7 separate regions of the Homo sapiens genome follow, and regions 1, 2, 3, 4, 6 and 7 are each linked to region 5. The links are contacts of gene promoters, found by promoter capture Hi-C in blood cells and fetal thymus (Javierre and others, 2016). All regions are on one chromosome and are shown on one strand. Each heading gives the region's core, a stretch centred on a gene start or on the middle of the fragment in contact. The rest is flanking DNA. Distances are from core to core; before and after follow the strand shown.

What was found. The method cuts DNA at HindIII sites, captures the fragments that hold promoters and counts their contacts. A CHiCAGO score of 5 or more calls a contact.
Region 1: a fragment that was not itself captured here is called in contact with the fragment with the promoter of DNAJA1 in region 5 in 5 of 17 cell types (M2 macrophages, M1 macrophages, M0 macrophages and 2 more); the score reaches 13.7 in M2 macrophages.
Region 2: a fragment that was not itself captured here is called in contact with the fragment with the promoter of DNAJA1 in region 5 in 4 of 17 cell types (endothelial precursors, M1 macrophages, M2 macrophages and 1 more); the score reaches 8.9 in endothelial precursors.
Region 3: a fragment that was not itself captured here is called in contact with the fragment with the promoter of DNAJA1 in region 5 in 1 of 17 cell types (erythroblasts); the score reaches 5.0 in erythroblasts.
Region 4: a fragment that was not itself captured here is called in contact with the fragment with the promoter of DNAJA1 in region 5 in 4 of 17 cell types (endothelial precursors, M1 macrophages, M2 macrophages and 1 more); the score reaches 7.7 in endothelial precursors.
Region 6: a fragment that was not itself captured here is called in contact with the fragment with the promoter of DNAJA1 in region 5 in 4 of 17 cell types (M1 macrophages, M0 macrophages, M2 macrophages and 1 more); the score reaches 9.9 in M1 macrophages.
Region 7: a fragment that was not itself captured here is called in contact with the fragment with the promoter of DNAJA1 in region 5 in 1 of 17 cell types (fetal thymus); the score reaches 7.7 in fetal thymus.

Annotation. Positions count from the first base shown.
Region 1 is chr9:32,399,493-32,402,312 of GRCh38, forward strand. The region is part of intron 1 of ACO1 (aconitase 1); the gene reads left to right. Among named protein-coding and RNA genes, the nearest start is that of ACO1, 16 kb to the left of the region's middle. The HindIII fragment of the contact is 7,739 bases long and covers 1-2,820 here.
Region 2 is chr9:32,438,685-32,441,384 of GRCh38, forward strand. ACO1 (aconitase 1) reads left to right here. Exons shown (of 21, transcript NM_002197.3): 19 at 1,781-1,903. Among named protein-coding and RNA genes, the nearest start is that of ACO1, 55 kb to the left of the region's middle. The HindIII fragment of the contact is 3,679 bases long and covers 1-2,700 here.
Region 3 is chr9:32,369,364-32,372,139 of GRCh38, forward strand. No RefSeq gene overlaps it. Among named protein-coding and RNA genes, the nearest start is that of ACO1, 14 kb to the right of the region's middle. The HindIII fragment of the contact is 7,926 bases long and covers 1-2,776 here.
Region 4 is chr9:32,420,312-32,423,333 of GRCh38, forward strand. ACO1 (aconitase 1) reads left to right here. Exons shown (of 21, transcript NM_002197.3): 8 at 545-716; 9 at 3,008-3,022. Among named protein-coding and RNA genes, the nearest start is that of ACO1, 37 kb to the left of the region's middle. The HindIII fragment of the contact is 5,989 bases long and covers 1-3,022 here.
Region 5 is chr9:33,023,667-33,026,522 of GRCh38, forward strand. DNAJA1 (DnaJ heat shock protein family (Hsp40) member A1) reads left to right here and starts at 1,607. Exons shown (of 9, transcript NM_001539.4): 1 at 1,607-1,717; 2 at 2,809-2,856. The coding sequence starts at 2,819. It also overlaps a transcript of APTX not described here. RefSeq lists enhancers at 447-1,042, 1,365-1,659, 1,637-2,231, 2,188-2,257 and silencers at 1,518-1,667, 1,948-2,087. The HindIII fragment of the contact is 3,848 bases long and covers 1-2,556 here.
Region 6 is chr9:32,465,942-32,468,992 of GRCh38, forward strand. It overlaps RIGI (RNA sensor RIG-I), which reads right to left. Exons shown (of 18, transcript NM_014314.4): 15 at 1,821-1,991; 16 at 349-500. It overlaps LOC124902138 (a long non-coding RNA gene), which reads left to right and starts at 2,674. Exons shown (of 2, transcript XR_007061449.1): 1 at 2,674-3,051. The HindIII fragment of the contact is 254 bases long and covers 1,555-1,808 here.
Region 7 is chr9:33,818,987-33,821,782 of GRCh38, forward strand. All of the region lies in intron 1 of UBE2R2 (ubiquitin conjugating enzyme E2 R2), which reads left to right. Among named protein-coding and RNA genes, the nearest start is that of UBE2R2-AS1, 1.5 kb to the left of the region's middle. The HindIII fragment of the contact is 284 bases long and covers 1,346-1,629 here.

The DNA.
Region 1 (2,820 bases), core at 236-2,735, 620 kb before region 5:
TCCAGGCATCCTGGTGATATGCAAATCCTTTCACTCGGCTCTTTTCTAGGAACTGAAAGCTAGAAATTTATTTGAAAGAAATGATTTAAGGACCTACTAACGATGTGAGTATACAAGGCATCATTGTTTGAATGCTAGTACTTGGAAACAACCTAAGTATTTTAATAATAGGGAAATTGTTATATATCTGAAGGATAGATTTTTATGGTATAGTTTAAAGTGCTGTAAAATATCACACGATTGTCCTATTAAGATATTTGAGGTTTATTGTTGAGTGAAAAAAAGCAATTAGCAAAACAATGTGAGGTCTAGTGATTTTTTTTTTTTGAAAAATTCAAATGCGTTTAAAAGTCATGGTAAATGAAACTGTAAATCATGGTATTACAAAGGATTTTATTTTGTTCTTTTTGCTCACCTGCATTTTCTGTTGTTGCTACAGTGAGCATCTATTTCTTTTATTTTTTTCTTTTTCTGTTTTTTTTTTTTTTTTTTTTTTGCGATGGAGTCTCGCTGTGTCACCCAGGCTGGAGTGCAATGGCACGATCTTGGTTCACTGCACCCTCCGCCTGCTGGGTTCAAATAATTCTCCTTCCTCAGCCTCCTGAGTAGCTGGGACTCCAGGTGTGTGCCACCATGCCCGGCTAATTTTTGTACTTTTAGTAGAGATAGGGTTTCACCACCTTGGCCAGGCTGGTCTCAAACTCCTGACCTGAGGTGATCCGCCCATCTCGACCTCCTAAAGTGCTGGGATTACAGGTGTAAGCCACTGCGCCTGGCTGTATCTATTCCTTAGTGTAATATTTTTTAAAGTTACCACCACCCAAGAAGATGTGGTTCAGTAACAAATTTGGTATCCTGCTGAGATTGGAAAGGGAGCTGGGGATGGGGTGGGAAGGGAGGGCCCCCCTTGGATTAGTGTGTTTGACTTGAATGAGGTGTGGCACTGTTCATCTAAGGCTAAATTTGAGCCATTCAGGGATTCTCTTCACAGCTCTTTCTCTCTGTTGGTGAATATCAAAGGACATATTGAGGGGAGCAAAGTGGACTTTATCTGGAGTTATAGTCACAAATTTAAATACATCTTCACCAGTCATTATTAAAGAAAGATCTGCATTTGTAGTTCCAGGAACTTTACGGACCATTCTATCTTTCTTTCAAAGGGTATTGCTGAAGATGTCAAGTTCTCATTTTATAGAGATGCTAATGTAGGTATTTATGTACAAAGTTTAAATGACCGCTCCAGTGTTTTAAGAAGTAAGTAGTAAATGAATGCATGCTTATCAAAAATAGAATTTGAATAATACAGGAGTATGAAACATAGAAAGCTAAAGTCTCCCCTTTATACAATGTGTTATTCTATTTGTAATCCATGTTAACTTTATGTCTTTCTTTTTTGTGCATTTGCATATGCAATGGTGTGTGTGTATGAATGAATATACACTAATGGTCTTGAAGTTTTTTTTTTTTTTCACTTAAATCAGATCCTAGTATATACATATATATATTATTTTGCAACTTTAAAATTCTCATATCATTTAATGTGAGCCTTTACTAACATTTTGTATCTTGAATCTGAGTAAGGGATTGTATACGCAATATTATATCAGGAAAATTGATTTGCCCTTACTGTGGCTTTTGGAAAAAAGTGGCACCCAGGGCAGATCATCAGAAACCTAAATTTAAGTTGTTTTTCCAAAGTTTAGCTGTCAGTTCTCTGGAATTCTGAAACACATGGAAGTTTTAGTAAGTGATTATAGAACTAACATCACAGAAGCACCAAAAGACTGTGATACACCTAGGTAGTACTTTTTTCAACTCTACCTGTGAAAGATTTTAAGGGTTTTTTTTTTCCCCCTGAGGGAAATTTGCATTTCACTGGAGGGCAAATCAGCTGTATTTTTTTTTTTTTCTGGTTATCCCACTAATGAGTCCTGTGACCCTAGGCAGTCAGTTGCTTTTCAGGGCCTCTCTGTCTTCCTCTGGGGAATGCTACATGATTGCTAAGGTTCTTTACTAAAAACTCAACATTCTATGTCTCATTACCTCCTTAGCACCTAAGGTCAAGGTGTCCCTAGGGAATGGTGACAGGTTGGTGCCATGCCTTAGTGCCATGCTATGTATGCACAAAAGGTGCTACTCCAAGGCACCTGCAAGTGTCCTCAATTGAGCCAAAGGTCAGTTGGTAGCAAGACTGTGGTTGGGGAAAAACCCTAGCTCTTCACTCCTCCCACCCTTTTACTGGGAGCATGGCTCATTTGTTAAATGTCTTACCCTAGTTCTGCCTGCCTTTGCATAATATTTGTTATTTTTTAGTGACCTACTTTAAAAATCTGGTGTTCAGACTGTCCATGCCCACCCCCGTTCTTGCATGCAGAGTGTACCTGTGCTAATCATAACCCTGTACAAGTCACCCAGCTAGTATTTCAGGATGGGTTAGCTTTGAAAGACACTGTTTCTCTACCAAATAATTATCTTGACTTTCAGAATGTGAACTACATGTAATGAAGGGTTTCAGATACAGTAGCTCCGTTTTTATTCCTTTTGTTTAAGAACTGTTCATCTGTCTTCCTTGATTCAGTGGCCAGGGACAAGTGTTCAGCTGTCTTCATCATTCTGACAAGCGTCCCGGAGGGACAAGTTCTGAATAATTGCTCCCACCTTGTACCTTAAAAGATACCATTTCCCATTCCTTCCTTCTTTTTTTTTTCTTTTTTCTTCTCCTCTTTTCTCTTCTTGCCACCATGTAGTATCATCTCATTCTATAGAACAAAGAAAGCAGCAACCCCAAATAGTGTGATATATGCTAACTCTTCCCTCTTT
Region 2 (2,700 bases), core at 191-2,690, 590 kb before region 5:
GTGAAACATGTCTTAAATCACCAAGAAAAGGAAATCACAGCACATTACCTGGCTCAGCTGTAAATAGTATTTATGTAGTCATAATCATGCAAACACCAAATGCTGACTTACCAAAATAACTATATTGGGAGGTTGGGAAGAAGGGAGATGTGTGGAAGAGGAGAGATTGTTAAGAGAAGTAAATCCTCAAAGTAGAATATTGACAGATAATTTTAAAAAGTGGAGAAATCAAGAACTAGTAGTTTAAACATAATACCTAGAGATACACAGGCACAGTAACAGAAGAAATAGCTAAATGCTATGTTCTCTTTAGAAGAGCGTAAGAGTGCAGGGAGCTGTTGCTTTCTAAGCTGTCAGTGGCTCTCAGCATGGCGTGTTTAATAGAAAAGTCAGGAGACGTGAGTTCTAGACCTGCTTAGTCCCTCTGATCTTGGGTAACATGACGTGCTTTGCCATGAGATTGTCAACTTTGCAGTACTTTTTAAAGCACACACTCTCACATTGTTAATACCCAAAGCTACAGTCTCTGAAAATATCAGATAAGTTGTTTCTTTCTGGTCTTTGAAAGGATCCAGACAATTCAGTTAGAAGAAGGTTTTCACTGTTTCTATGACAGTTTCTATATTTACGAGTTCTGTCTAGCTGAAGACATACAGAATCCTATCCGGGTTTAGGTAATGCATGCGAAATTAACCACAGGTTCCATCAGTACACCAAAATACAAATTTGTGAAAGTCTGTTTGAGAGTTTTCTTTAGCTCCTGTCTCTCTTTTGAGGAATTTTATCTTCTGACTTACATAGCCTGGAAAAATAATGGTACTGCTCAACCACCAGAGATGATATCATGTCTTTGTAAAGTCTCAGTTCAGTGAGATATTCAGATTCCCTGTGAGAAACAAATCTGTTTGTATAAGATGTTTCTCATGTACTAAAATATTAATCTTTTTCTACCTTTTATTGGGCTTCCATTTGCATTTCTAGCATCTCTTCCCTTGACCTCCATGAAGAAAGGGGACTGATAAAAGTTTGCACTTTATATAATTTCAGAACATGTTACCTTCTTTGTGTTTTGCTAATTTTACAACTGACATCACCGAGTTTCTGATATTGAGCCAAAATGTTTAGGTCACATTCTGTTTTTTGAGTTTTAAAATAATTTAGTCAATGGAAAAGAAAAAATCTGATCTAGTTTCCTTTTCTCCCCTGATGCCTTAGGATTCTAATGTTTTTATAAAACCAACAACAATTAGGCATTTCTGTCAAAAGAATATAAAATGGTTTTTAAGAATACAAAATTTAAGGCCGGATGCAGTGGCTTACGCCTGTAATCCCAGCACTTTGGGAGGCCGAGGTGGGAGGATCACTTGAGGTCAGGAGTTCAATACCAGTTTGGCCAACATGGTGAAACCCCATCTCTACTAAAAATACAAAAATTAGCTGGGTATGGTGGTGTGCGCCTGTAATCCCAGCTACTTGGGAGACTGGAGCAGGAGAATCAATTGAAACCCGGGAGGTGGAGGTTGCAGTGAGCTGAGATCGTGCCACTGCACTCCAGCCTAGACAATAGAGTGAAACTCTATCTCAAAAAAAAAAAAAAGAATACAAAATTTAATTTGGTAGAAGTAAAAAGATCAAGATAATTGGGAATTTGTAGACAAGATGATTGGACGGATTTGGCCATCTGCAAACCCATCCAGCCCCGCCCTCACCAGGGCTCAGGGGACCTGTGTCCATTCTTTGCCTCTCCTGCATCTGTAAAACTTCCTTTTCTCTTCCTCAGCTTGATGTGTTTGATGCTGCTGAGCGGTACCAGCAGGCAGGCCTTCCCCTGATCGTTCTGGCTGGCAAAGAGTACGGTGCAGGCAGCTCCCGAGACTGGGCAGCTAAGGGCCCTTTCCTGCTGGTGAGTATGAAGTAGACATCCTAGGAGGCAGCTCCCCTCTGAACTGGGAGGGTCCCCAGGCACAAATCCTGTTGCTTTACTTTCCAAGAAGATGTCAAGGAAGAGCAAGCTCAAAAAAGCAGGTAGTGTTTATTCCTGGCCTGCTTCTTGGTGCCTCTGGATTTATTTTATTTGGTGAAGGGCAATGCAGAGTTGAACTGGATCTATCATTCATTAATGGACCTTGGGGGCATGTCTATAGAACAGTTTTGGGGTAGGGTCTGTGAAGTCTCTGAAAACATATCCAGAAGTATACATGTATGTCTTTCATGGGGAGAGGTGTCATGGCTTTTATAACATTCTCAGAGGCTGAGGACCCCAAATTTATTCAGGTCCCTTGTTCCAGGTGAATGTCAGGAATAAGCCAGGGCCATTGTATTATCTGTCAGTTTCACAGAAGAGAAAAGGAGCCTGGACTTTTTCAGGAGTTACTTTGGCAAGAATGGGTTCTAAGTCTCCTGGAAAATTGGGAGAATCACTTTTTATAATTGCACTTCACTGCCTATGAATATCTGCTTATGGGCTCTCGATGAGAGTGAAACTCACTCTGCACATACCCAGGCAGCTCTTTAGAACCTTCCGCCATCTCGGGGCTCTACCTCTTGAGGTGTCCCCATAGAAGGGGCCATGCAGGGAGCAGAGAGCTTTTGCCTCTTGAGCATTTGCTTGCCCTAAAAGCAGAGAAGAATCATGCCACCCAGCCTGAATCTTCAGGGTGGGGTACACATGGCTTACCTGATGTCAATTTAAATCATTTG
Region 3 (2,776 bases), core at 24-2,523, 650 kb before region 5:
TGTTTTCTAGGTGAGGAAATTAAGGTACAGAGATGTCAAATATTTTTTACATGTGACACAACTACTACACAACTACAAATCCTAGATTCAAACCCAGGATTTAAAGACAACATGGCTCTAGGGCCTGTATTTTTTAGCCACTATATTCTAGTACAGGAGTCAGAAACTACTGCCCATAGGTCAAATACAGCCAGTAACCTGTTTTATAAATCATGAGAGCTAAAAGAGGTTTTTATATTTTTAATGGTTGTAAAAATAAGAAGACGAAAAGGAAGGAAGAGGAGGAGGAGGAGGAGAAGGAGAAGGGAGGAGGAAGAGAAGCTGTAATGCCAACAAAGACTAAAATATTTGTTATCTGCTCCATTACAGAAAAAGTTTTCCAGCCCCTGCTCTAGTGCCTTACTGTGATATGATATGATATAGCTCGGATGTTGTGCCCTCTAAATCTCATGTGCAACTGTAATCCCCACTGTCCTAGGGCCGGGTAGGAGGTGATTAGAACATGAGTATGGTTTACTCATGAATGGCTTAGAGCCATCTGCTCGATGCTGTCCTCATGATACTGAGTGAGTTCTTGTGAGATCCGGCTGTTTAAAAGTGTGTGGCATCTCCCCCTTCTCTCTCTTGCTCCCATTCTTGCCATGTGACATACCTGCCCCTGCTTAGCCTCCTGCCGTGAGTAAAAGCTCCCTGAGGCTTCCTTCAGAAGCCAAGAAGATGCCGTCGCCATTCTTACTGTACAGCCTGCAGAACCGTGAGCCAACTAAATTAAACCTCTTTTCTTTATAAATTACCCAATCTCAGATTTTCCTTTATAGCAATGCAAGAATGGCCTAATACAAGTGGTTTCCATGTAGAACCAGGAAAGGAGACAAATTGACCCATGTCGGATATTGCTGGGACAATAATGACAGCCTACAGGGATGCAGGAATGCGGTTGCTCAGAAAAATATGAAGAGGACACAAAATCCCTAAGCATGAGGAGGACTTTAGACTGTAACAAAGAACAGAAGTCAGCACCTGAAACAAAATCAACTGAATCTCTGAGGAGTAGAATCTACCGTGGATATAAGTTTTATATATATATTTGTGGAAATGGTCTGTCTCCTTGTAAGTCTCAAAATTATTTGCATGGAGTATTTCACAGTATTACATTAAGTTTTCTAACAGTCATATTTGTAGTTATATACCTCAATAAATGTTCACATATTTAAACCCATTTTTATTTAACTTGTCAGAGATTTGTATATTTCAATGTTTTTTCCAAAGATATTGTTCTCAGAATTAGTGTCAATTCTATATATTTTCTACTTCATTGATATTTTGTGATACTAATTTATATTTCCCTTAGTTTTTTTCTAACTTCATTAGTTTCTCTTTTTTTAAATAGCTACAGAACTTAAGGCTATACATTTGCCACTATATACAGCTTTGGTTGCCTACAAAATATTTCAGGTGGAGAATTGTAATGCTTATTTGTATTATTAATGAAGTTACATATTCTATTCACAATATAGGTCTTGAAAAACATGGAGAATACAGATACTATACAACAAAGAAAACTCTAGTCAATGATTTTAAAACATAATATATAACAAATAAAATATATGACTATAAATGTGCTTCAGTCAGGGTATGGAAGGCATATATAAAACTAGCAAAATTGGCAATGAGTTGATAATTGTTGAAAATGAGTAATATTTAAACTATTATAGACATCATTATTATATTCTCATTATAGTTCATTATTATAGTCTCATAGTTCATTAAAATATTCTCTTTTGTAAATGGTTATTATTAATAATAATAAAAATTTTTAATTCACTAAATAGTAAAGTTCTAAATTTCCAGGTTGGTAAAATTTGGTGCAGATACATGACAAGCTGATTTTTTCCTCAATGTAATAACAAAACTACATGGCCAAATTTGTGCCTTGTGATTTCAACCAAACACCATAGCCAAAACCAAAACACAGATACCTGTCAGAGTTTGGGATTTTACTCTACTTGTAATCTAATAAGAGCCTGTACTATTTTATGGATATTGGCAGAAGACACAAGACTCCTGGGTCATATGAGTCCCATCATTACTCATGACACAGCAAGTAGCATAAGTATCATGTTGCATCTGGTCTCCTTGTTCAAAGTCCCACCAGGATGATGCAGAGGGACCCAGAAGGATGCAACACATACAATGGATTTATGTTGCAGCCAGGGAACACTGAGCTTGGAGATTCACTGTTTTCACAGTAAGGGGTAAGAAAGCCTGCTCTTTAAGCCCACACACATCCATGATCCACAATTATGTCATGATCCAGACTCAACAATTATAAAGTTTTGGACAATATTGTTTCATCTATATACTCATTCACTTCTTGCCCCCTCTCAAATGCAATAATTTTCAAGAAAATACCTGACTTTATAAAATTTAAACCCTCATGGTTGCTCACTAAAACACAACCCTGAGAAATGGCCTGGGTAAAGAGCAGTCAGGGCCTTGAATTCTTGGCACACCCAGCAAAAATGCGCACAGATACTCAGGACCTGTGAGAGATTGCCTTTATCTTCAATCCTCCCTCTGTCCCTATGTGTACTGGCTTCTCATAAACTTTCACATAAGTATGTCACTCTGTTGATCACTCGGATTAATTTGACCATCAGGGCTAGAACTAAACCTGTTCAATTGGTCTCATATAGCATTTAATTAAGGTTACCATCAAAGGGACTCCAAACAACAGGATAAAATTAACCTGCAGTATTGGCCTCAATCATTCCTT
Region 4 (3,022 bases), core at 216-2,715, 600 kb before region 5:
TTAGGTTGAAAGAATTTAATATGTAGCACTTCCAGACGCTTCCAATGATCTCATTAGAGAAAGAGAATGTTTCTCATCTTGAAATATTTTTCTTAATATCATTTGTATTTTGGGCACACTTTGTCTTTCTTTTTATAAATAAAAACTATTTGACATCATCTTAGATTTATGGGAGAGTTAGTATAAAGAGTACAGAGAATTCCTGTTATCTTTCTCCCAGCTTCCCATAATGTTAACATCTTAAATAACCATGGCACATTTATCGAAACTAAGAAGTTAACATTGGTGTGGTACTCTTAACTACAGACTTTACCAGTTTTTTCAGTAATGTCCCAGAATTCTGCTCCAGAATCCAATCCAGGATACCATGTTGCATTTAGTTGGCATTGTTTTTTAAGTTTTGAAAGTGATCACAAATGTGTTGGGCTGATTTACTATTTGGGTTTACTGACAAGACTAGTTTATAAGAAGTGCAAGATGGTAGTTCTGCATTTTGAATGTGGGCCATCAGATCTCAAACTTTTCTGTTGTTTCTGCTGCTTAGCACCTCCGCCAGGTTGGGGTAGTGGGCAAATTTGTCGAGTTCTTCGGGCCTGGAGTAGCCCAGTTGTCCATTGCTGACCGAGCTACGATTGCTAACATGTGTCCAGAGTACGGAGCAACTGCTGCCTTTTTCCCAGTTGATGAAGTTAGTATCACGTACCTGGTGCAAACAGGTAAGTGAAGGGCCCTGAAAGCATCGGGCTTTTTGTAAAAGTTCCATGAAACACCAAGAATCTGAGCACTGCCTTCTGCCTCTACCCAACAGAAGGCACTGGGTTACAGTTACACAATTATTTTTTTCTCCATGGAGTCAAAATGGGTTTTTGGGATTTAAGGAGTTAATATGAGATAGAGATGGTATGGCCAATAGAAAGAGCTCAGAGATTACAGAAGCCTGGATATTTATACTGGTCCTCTACTACTAGTTTTTTGACATTAAACAAGTGATCTTAGTAATGGTTACTGCTGCCTATGGGGTACTTGCTGTGTACCAGGTACCTAGTATGTATTTGCTGTCAACCTCTTTACAGATCTGTAGGGTAGATTGATTGACTAGTTAATTAACATTAGAGAAAACTGAGGAGCAGAGAAGTGTTCATACCCAAGGCTAATAAACAGCAGAGTCAGAATCCAACCCTGCAACTGCCTGGCCCCATACAGGAACAGCACTCTGCAACACCCCTCTCAGGGATGTCTAAAAAATGAAATGAGTCCAGGCATGGTGGCTCACTCCTGTAATCCCACCACTTTCAGAGGCCAAGGCAGGCAGATCTGACCTGAGGTCAGGAGTTCGAGACCAGCCTGGCCAACATGGCGAAACTCCCAGGAGGTGGAGGTTATGGTGGGCCGATCTCGCACCACTGCGCTCCAGCCTAGCCAACAGAGAGACTGTCTCAAAAAAAAGAAAAAAGAAAAGAAATGAGAGTGTGATGTGATAATGAGAAAGAAAGGGGAGGTGGCTGAAGTACCCCAGAGGTGCTTGCACAGATCTCTGGATGAAGTGAAGGGACAGCCATGGGAAGGGTTTCATGAGAATCTTACAGACTCCAAATAAATCTTAGTCTTCTGCTGTAGCCTGAGGAAATTCCTCTAGAAATAGTAAAGATTGTCATGAAAAAGTTTATTTAAAGAAGTTTTTATTAAATATAAACACATTGAAATTGATTAATACATCTTTGTTCTCCCAAAGGATTTTAAGTGAAAAAGATAACTAAAAGAACAGAATAAATAATTGAGGGAATCAACCTAAAGAAAGAGAGGGATAGTGTGCTGGGTAGAGGGATAAAAGCTGTGAGATGGATCTAGAGGGAAGGTTAGTTGGTTAGTTCCCGTGGTGCTGCAGGTGGCCATTATACTTCTTGGTAATCCAGTGCCAAATTTGTAACATCTATTAAATTGAAACAAACATATTGCTTCAGAATAGTGTAGCCCTTTCTCATAGTAAACCCTAAGAAAGATTTCTCCTGTTCATCTTCATGAAGAGCATGGCATGGGTTGTAGTGAACAGCGGGCTCAACAACAGGTCAGGACAAATACATTAGTGAAGCTCATACAGCTGTCTTTTATGAGGTCTGTGCTGAGAGCTAATGACGTTTACAGTTCAGCTAAAACAAATAGACAAACAAAAGTTCTGATCAGTGGTAGGATCAGCCAAAGGATCAAACCTTCTGTTTCTAACCATCAGAGAAATTGTGGACTGCATGTCCGTTGGGCATACTTCATGAGTATTATCTCCTACCCCGGGATCTTGATAAAAGTTAAATAGCAGAGGGTTCAAGGTCATATTCCTGGTGATGCAGCATCGTGAGTTAAGACTTTGAACTTTTGGGTCAAGCTCTGGTTTGGATTTTGGTTCTACCGTTTACTGGCTGTGTTACATGAGAAAGTTACTTAGTCTTCTTGAGCCGCCATTTCCTTATCCATAAATGAGAATAATAATTGTACTTGTATCTTAAGACTATGATAAAGGATTAGAGATTGAGGTAATACATTTAAAATGTTTAGGACACAGTGCCCAGAAAGTGCTCAGTAGCCAGTGGTTTCAGGTGGGGTTGGGATGCGTTTTAATTTTAACGGTAATCATGTGGAATGCTGAATCTTTGTGGCCAGTTGAAGGCAAATGCATAGGTGTGCTTTCACAATTAGCTCAGGTGTAAGATTCTCCTAATTAAAGGCTATACCCCAAAAGAGGCGGGTTATCTATAGATAGAACCAGAATCTTTTTCAGAAAACAGTCACTTTGATAGGAACAGCACATTCATTAATGGCCCCTAATAAAAAGCAGCATCAGTGGGAGAGTCAAACCATTAGCCTGGAAGCCTAAAAATTGACAGAGCTGTTGGTGTGTGTGTAAGTGCAGCGTATGTTGCGTACTTACATAATTGCTAATGGAAGTATCAGTTTATAAACTTCAACCAGGAAATACTAACCTATGTTACTTGTTACTCCTTAAAATGCCTTTTAGGTCGTGATGAAGAAA
Region 5 (2,856 bases), core at 357-2,856:
TCTGTCAGCCAATGCAAAAGCATACAAAGGTGAAAAGGCGTATATGGGAAACTGCGGATAGTTCTGTGACTGGAATGCACAGTTAAAATTAATGAAAGAGAAAAGGCTGAAGAGGCAGCATGAGGATGCTTCCAAGGATAAAGTTCAAAATTCTTAGCGTAGCATATATACCAACAGACAAAGGCATGCCCTAACTAGCTTTGAAGCCTCACCTCCGGCTATTCTAGCTCCCTTAGCTATGGCTATATCCAATTAGTTGCAATTTCCTAAAAACATCATATTCTTCCACACCTTAGTATAGCCTTCCCCTGTGCTTTGTCCACTGCTCTCCTCCCATTTTCAAAACTCAGCTCAATTGCCACTTTCCCAAAGAAATTCTCTCTGATCTATCAGGTTAATATAGGAGGCTCTCCCCTACTGACTTCTACCTCATGGTTTCTCTGGCAGTCTGTTGACTTGTTTGGCTTCTCACTAAAGTCTAACTGGGGCTTTTCAACTCTGCATCTCCAGTTCTGTTTTTGTTTTAAATCGAGACGGGGTTTCACCATGTTGCTTGGGCTGGTATCAAACTTCTGAGCTCACGCAATCAGCCCACGCTGGCGTCCCAAAGTGCTGGGATTACACACGTGAGCCACCGAGCGTGGCAAACTCCATCTTTCTTGGTGCTAGATACTGACATACCTGCTGTGTCCCTGGATAAAGAAGCGGACCCCAATTCCCATTAAGCCCCCGTGGTACCATTTTCAAGTCCGAGGTCTTACGTTGCAGATTGTACATCCAGGTTCCCTGACCCGTAGGATTTAAAAGTGAGGTCAAATAATTAAACAAATTGTTTTAGTCAGACACTCTTGCGGCTACTCTGTAGCCAAACTGGGTGAAAACCTGACCAGAGGAGTCCACGGCCCTCTGTACATCAAAGACGGTCCAAACGTCTCACTGTTTAGCTCAGTCCCAGACACACTGAGCTCAATCTGCACGAATCAGCGAGGTCCAGGGCAGATAACATGTGTCTAGGGGCCTGGACTTGCACAAAAAGCCTTAACAACTTCACAATTTGATTAATTATGCCGCCTTGGACCACGCGTGAAAAACAGCAAGACCCAAGGCCTATGCTATTGGTCTGGGGACTAGACCCACCTGGCTCAAGCATTTTTTGCTCGCCACGTTCCCAAAAAGAGAAGAGGCGCCCGTAAGAGGGGGGGGGGGGGGGGCAAGACTGTTCCAAGAGCTTTCCCGTTCACACACAGCTCCCGCTGGGTCACTGTACTCGAGCCCTTCCCGCCCTCGCGGGCCCAGGCGGCCACCCCACAGGTTTGGGAACCCTAGGACTTGCAGTGCTCCTGGGCCATGCCCCACCAGCCGGAGACTTCCGCACTCTCAGGCTCGCTGAGTGGAGAAAAGGGCTCCAGAAGATTCCACGAGCGCCGGGAAGCCGCGCTAGCACCAACACCCACAAGGCCTTTCGGCGCAGCTCCTCCCGACCCGTGCGCCCCCGCGCCGTTGCCCAGGTAACGGCGGGGCGGTGGCAGCGGCCGAGAAGGGCGGGACTTCCGGCGGGTGACGCGCCCGGGTTCGGCTACAAAAGAGGACGGCTGCGGCGCGCCGGGCGGAACTTTCCAGAACGCTCGGTGAGAGGCGGAGGAGCGGTAACTACCCCGGCTGCGCACAGCTCGGCGCTCCTTCCCGCTCCCTCACACACCGGCCTCAGCCCGCACCGGTGAGTTTGAGCCCTCGCGCTGCCCCTAGTCCCCTGGCTGGCGCCATTGGCGCCGGGAAACCGATGGAGCCGCGGTCGGGAGGCAGTTGGCCGCGTGGGTAGGACCGCTGTCAGTTCCTGGGCCCACGATTTCCCTTTTGGAGGGCTGGTGTGGTGCCCTGGCAACCCATCCCCGGCACGCACAGTGAATGGGCCCGAGACCTTTCCTAGACCTCCCTCCTTCCCCAGCCTGGGATCTCCAAGGAGCTACTGTCTTCGGCTGCCCCTCCGTGCGCGCCCCCGCGGCCCCCCTCCCCGTCCGTGCTCGCTCGGGGTGGGGGGGGGGAGTGGGGTTGGCGACCCTGCGCACGCGCACAGGGAGGCAGGGGCGAGGGGCTGCGGGGGGAGCCGGGCGGAGACTGCGGCTTTTGGTTTCGCTTTCTCTGTTTCCCCTCCCTTTGTTTGTTGAGGGCTGGGCTTTCCCCACCGCCACTTGGGTCCAGGGTGGGAGGGAGAAAGGAAGGAAATCGGTCAGCGCCAAGTGCAAGGGGAAACCTGGCAGGTAAACTCTGCCAGCCTGAGGGGCGAGAGGGATTCGGCTGGAGAAGCTGTAAGCCGTGGGCGGTGGAGGGCTTGCTGTGTGGAGCCAGTAACCTGTTCTATAAACCACTCCCCCCCACCACTGTGTGCCCAGACGTCTTTTTCTGGAGAGTATATGGAGTTTATCAGATTTGCCAAAGACAGTGATAGTGTAATGACCGGTAGACTGAACATATCAGTGCTTCTTTTGGTTACAACTGTCACCGCCTCTAGGGCAAACGGGAAGAATCCAGATAATAGTTGTGTTATATTAGTATGGAAGCTTTGGTGTAGGAAAATTGGAACCAGCTGCTAGAAGGCGGCTCTCAGATTATTTCCCGATAATGATTATTTGTTTTGTCTGTTCGAGTTTATAGCTGAATTATCGCAGGAATTGTTACCTTTTTGGTGAAATTTAGGGAAGGTGGTGTTCTTATAATCGGATTTTGCAAAGAGATTGCTCGGCCTTAGCTCTCTTTTTTATTAAAAGCTACCAGTTGAAAGCCGGTTAAAGTTGCATTTTCTTATTTCAGGCAGTAGAAGATGGTGAAAGAAACAACTTACTACGATGTTTTGGGGGT
Region 6 (3,051 bases), core at 432-2,931, 560 kb before region 5:
CCTAGGAGCTTTTCTCTGAGGACTCTTTGGAGAGAGATTTAAGGAAGAGACTAAGAACAGCTGTTTTTTCCAGTATTAGGATATAGTCCTCGAGATGAACTGTCAACTAGAGAAATCCTAGCTCAATTTGCCTTTTAGATCTGAAAACATAACTTCAGTTATTAGCACTATTAAATATAATTTAACCTCATTGACATTTAAAAACAGAATGAATTTAATATTCACTAAGTATAAACTTTTTGTTGTAATATAACACTCTAAGCAATATGATAAAAGATACCAACCATCCTCCTCACATTCCCTGATAGTTATTTATGGTCAGATGCTGGAAGAATAACGTAGACTTACCTTTTCCCTAAATACTGCTTCGTCCCATGTCTGAAGGCGTAAAATAGAGTCATTCATCATTTTTTCTTTGTACATGTTTATTTGTTCTTTTTCAATTACACCAGCATTACTAGTCAGAAGGAAGCACTTGCTACCTCTTGCTCTTCCTCTGCCTATTAGAAAATAAATATTTTAGTTGGTGTTTTTGACTTAAAGCTCTGATATAATCTGCAAATAGGTAAACAAATAGAGGTACTCCTAAAATTCAACTTTGGTTCACTGAATCCCACTTCCCAGGAAAGTTGAGCTGTTAAAGAGTGAACTCATGAGGCAGGATTGCTTGAACCCAGGAGTTTGAAGCTGCAGTGAGCTAGGATTACACCACTGCACTCTAGCCTGGGTGACAGAGCAAGACCTATCTCAAAAAAAAAAAAAAAAAAAAAAAAAAAGACTCAAATGCAGGTGTGCACCTGCATGTTAAATATGTGGAAAAACTAGGAGCCCACCTTAGGCTGGCTTTCTCAGGGTCTCAACAATGCAGGGTGATTAGACAGCCGTACTGTCAGAAACACTGCTTTAAAGATACCTACATGAACCCCCAGTATGACACTGTGATGGCTCTAAGATGAGCAGTAAACAGGCCCTCCTTCAAGAACCTTCTAGACAATGAGGAAATAAGATCTCTTCATAACCAGCAAAACATAGGTGGAAAATTTTAAGTGCTATTACAAAGACAGATATAAAAGGTTATAGGCTTTATATGTTCAAAAGAGAGATTTTTGCCAGCTGGGAGGATTAGGGTCAGGTGATATGGAGGCAGGGGAAGAGGTAAAATGAAGAGTAGCAGTATCTGAGCAGTTCCGTCAACAAGCAATAAGTGAGGAAGTCAGGTTGGCGGAAGTGGATAATGCACAAAAGGGAAGAATGGGAAATAAAGTTGGAATGAAATAGGTGTTGGATTTTGGAAACTCTTTAGCATCAAGTAAATTGGGGAACCACTGGTGTTTCAATACAAGGAAGTGACACGATCGAGCTGTTTTTCAGGAAAAGTAATATGATAGCTGTACTTATGGAATTTTAAGAAGAAAAGGAAAAAGGAGGAAAGAATAGTTAGGAGACTAGTCAAGTCCAGGTGGGGCAGAACAACTCTGGAGTATCCCTTCTTGAATACAGGGGGCCCTTCAGCCCACCAGCACCACCATGAAAGGTTTACATGTTGACTGGCAAAGCTTCAATCCAAGTTGGAATTATTCTTCCATAAATATATCAGTCAATGCCAGGCAAGTGAGCAGCATCATTGTAAGAATCAAAGTAGAGTTTATGTTAGTGAACAAAACTGTAGCCACCTTAAGGGCCAATGATACCAAAGTGCACTGTGCCATTGGTCACATACTCAACCATGGCTCAGTAAAGAGAAAGGCCAGAATGACACATACACTTATAAATCAGTCAAAACAGAATCCATGTAGGAATGGCCTCAAAGCTTCTCTTACCTCTGGTTTGGATCATTTTGATGACATTGCCCACATACTCATAAAGGATGACAAGATTGCACTGTGCAATGTCAATGCCTTCATCAGCAACTGAGGTGGCAATCAGAATATTGTGATCTCCACTGGCTTTGAATGCATCCAATATACACTTCTGTGCCGGGAGGGTCATTCCTGTGTCAGAGTAAGAGGGCATTATACAACTCACCAAAGAGGGAACTTCCCCCTTGAAAAAACAGCTACTAATTATGGAATGCTTATTATATGCCAAGTACTGTGATAAGTACTTTATATCCATGATCTCACAACACACCTAGGCAGTGGGATCTATTCCTATGCCTGTTTCAGAAAGGACATTTAGGGTGGCATCTAACACTCAGACTCTGCCACAAGACTGAGTTCAAATCCCAGCTCTGGGGGACTTACTAGTTGTATGGCTTTAGCCATATTATCCAAGAAATAGACATTTTTGCAGAAATATCAACACCTAATTGTAACACCTTTACATGTGTGTAAGAATTTATAGCTGACAAAACATTTTCACATCTTCTCACTCACCAGAGCATCATAAAGCCCTATAGGTCAAAGGGTAAGTGCTCTGATTCCCCTTAACAAACGAGGGTCGTGCCAGGCATGGTGGTTCACGCCTATAGTCATAACACTTTAGGAGGCCAAGGCAGGTGAATCACTTGAGCCTAGGAGTTTGAAATCAGCCTGGTTAACACAGGGAGAACCCATCTCTACAAAAAATTTAAGAATTAGCTGGGCATGGTGGCACACACCTGTAGCCCCAGCTACTCAGGAGGCTTAGGTAAGAGAATCACCTGAGCTGGGGAAGTTGAGGCTGCAGTGAGCCATGATGGCACTACTACACTCCAGCCTGGGCAAGAGAATGAGACTCTATCTTAAAAAAAAAAAAGACACAAATGAGGGGCTTGAGGTTCCAGAAGTGAGGTAAACTGACAAGCTAGCTATCAGCAGTGTTGGGCCTTGAACTTCAGTTTAAGACCCTAATAGTGTGCACTGTTGGGGTGTCTGCCTCCCCATACACAAACTAAGAATCATTTTCTGCCACACCCACCCACAATACAGTTGTATTATGTTTCTCTATGAAAGAGGCAATGCTATCTGCTCACCAATCTTGTTTCTTTCTCCTGCTAGGCACACACAGCTGAATTATATTTCGCAATCTAAACTGTCACTAATGGCATGTAGACAGAGGTCATGTGTGTCT
Region 7 (2,796 bases), core at 238-2,737, 800 kb after region 5:
GAGTGTTTGTTTTGTTTTGTTTTTACTTGAGTGTTTTTGCAGGGAGGAATCACAGATTGAAAGTCTGAATATTTTAAATGATGGGGGCAGAGAGAGGAAATGAGTGCTTAGGAATCCATTTAGTTTTATTTTTTTATTTTCAAAATTAAGTAAAATAGGCCAGTGAGTCAATTTTAGTTTGGAAGGGAGGGGTTATCTTGGCACAAGTTTTAAATGAGTATCTTAGTCATGTAGTTGTGATGTGTATTTTTAGGACTACCCAATTACTTAACTCTTGTTTTCTACCCTTCTAAAGGTGGAAACCTCAGTTTTATGCTTGAAATTAGGTCAACTTTGTAGGAAATGGGATTGATACAGGAATGTTTAATATTCACTACTGTATATAGTCACTGAGTACCTAGGAAAAGCACGTTTTTAGAATATTATGTAAGTGCGGTACCCCTACCAACTGTTAGGCTTCATCTTTTGTGGTCAGCCTACCCTATACTTTTCAGATGGAGGTATTTAAAATTACTAAGAAAACATGCAACTTATTAGTAACAAAGTGGAAAAGATATTGCTGTGTTTATGATGAAGCATATTCTCTGTTGTCAAATATAAATTTTTATGCATACTGGAAAAATTAGTTGTACAAAATTGAATGTATGTGATACCTTTCTTTTTTTTTTTTGAGACGGAGTCTCGCTCTGTCACCCTGGCTGGAGTGCAGTGGCGCGATCTCGCCTCACTGCAACCTCCGCCTCCCAGATTCAAGCTATTCTCCTGCCTCAGCCTCCCAAGCTGCTGGGACTACAGGCGCACGCCACCACGCCCAGCTAATTTTTGTATTTTTAGTAGAGATGGGGTTTCACCATATTGGCCAGGCCGGTCTCGAACTCCAGACCCTGTGATCAACCCGCCTCTGCCTCCCAAAGTGCTGGGATTACAGGCGTGAGCCACTGCGCCCGGCCATGATGCCTTTTCTGACAAAACATTGTTTAGCAAAATCTGCTGGCTAATGTTAGTGGAATAAAGTTTGATTTCCAAAAAGTGTCATTGTTTGGTACAACCGATATTTAAAATAAATAAATGGGTACTAGTTAGAATAATCTCACTCCAATAAAGTTAAAAACAAGAGCAAACAAAACAAAACAAAACAAAACTTGTACATGAGAGAAAATAATGGGTTGCAAGTTGTAATATTTGTGCATAAGTCTGGGAAAGGAGTGTGGAGAACCCTCTCTGAAATAGGAAGTATGGAAGGATTCCTTGTGTTAATACACTGATTTAAATTAAATGCTTCTGAACTTCAGTCCTTGTTTAAAAGAATGATTTAATCTCGTGCTTTGTGATGTTAGATTTCTTAAGCTTTGAGTGTTTTTACCTTTAATTCTGACATGTATGAAAATTTGTAAACAGGTTTTATGGTTTAGTCTTGTGTGAGAAGTTTGTTCGATTGTATTTTCGACTACTTTTTCCCTTATATGGCCTTTTATCCCATTAGTTGTTCATTAGAAAAAGGCAAATTTATGGTCATGAGCAGTTGACACTGGGGATATGTTTAAAACCATTGTTTTTATTTTACTGCTTTTGTCTTAAGACAAGGCTTTTAGTGTATTTCACTACAGCTGCAGTTGAAAGTTGGCACAAAGCTTTCCCTACCATATCACTCTTCTCCCTTATTAAATGTTAGTCCTTGAACATTTAGTATAATTTATTTTCAAGTTAAACTCTTTTCCCTTTTTGGCATAGTCATTCGTGAAGGCAGTGGGACTGCCAGTCATTCTTTACATTTTTCATACTGTAATTCCTTTAACTTTTATATATTAATAGGTTTCTAACTGATCTTTTTCACCCTGAAATAGTTGGCTCTTGTCTCTTACCCACAGGATCTGCATTGGAGATTTGTGAGACCTGTATTTCACAGAATTTTTTTATTCATCCTGCTTTCGCTTATTTAATATCGCCAATCCACGTGATTCTTAGTTTTGGGCCATATAGATGTAGGATGGGCAAAGATAGTTTCTTCTGTCCATTCTGAATACTATACAATCTTTTTTGGCCTTACTATCTTTTTGTGTAGTTTCTTATTTTGCTACCTAAGCAAGTCGGAATTTTATTGTTACTAGAAAAATAAATTGTGGATCAAGTCAGTAGCTAATGAAGACTTTTAACAAGTTCACCCCCTTTCTTTTGAAAGGAACTTTTTCAGGGTCTTTCTCTGTCACTTAGTTTGGGGTACAGTGGTGTGATCATGGCTCACTGCAGCTTCCACATCCTAGGCTCAAGCAGTCCTCCCACCTCAGCCCCCTGAGTAGCTGGGACTACAGGCATGACTACGCCCGGCTAATTTTTTTTTCTTCAGTATTGTTAAGTGAGGTAGGGTCTCACTATTTTGTCCAGGCTGGTCTCAAACTCCTGGGTTCAAAGGATCCTCCTTTCTCAGCCACCCAAAGTGCTGGTTTTACAGGCGTCAGCCACCATGCCCGGCTGGAACTATCTTTTCAAATAACTCCTGCTAAGGATTGTAGCTTAGTGTGGGTGCTTTAGTACTGAACCTCCTTGGAACTTTTGCATTATTTATCTAAAGCATTATAGCAGTGAGTCTAGAGCCAGAAAGAGTGCCTCTTTTATGATATGCATAACAAAAAAAAATTTTTTTTTTTTTTGAGATGGAGTCTCACTCTTTTGCCAGGCTGGAGTGCAGTGGCACGATCTCAGCTCACTGCAACCTCTGCCTCCTGGGTTCAAGCGATTCTCTTGCCTCAGCCTCCCGAGTAGCTGGGATTACCGGCGTGCGCCATGAAACCTGGCTAA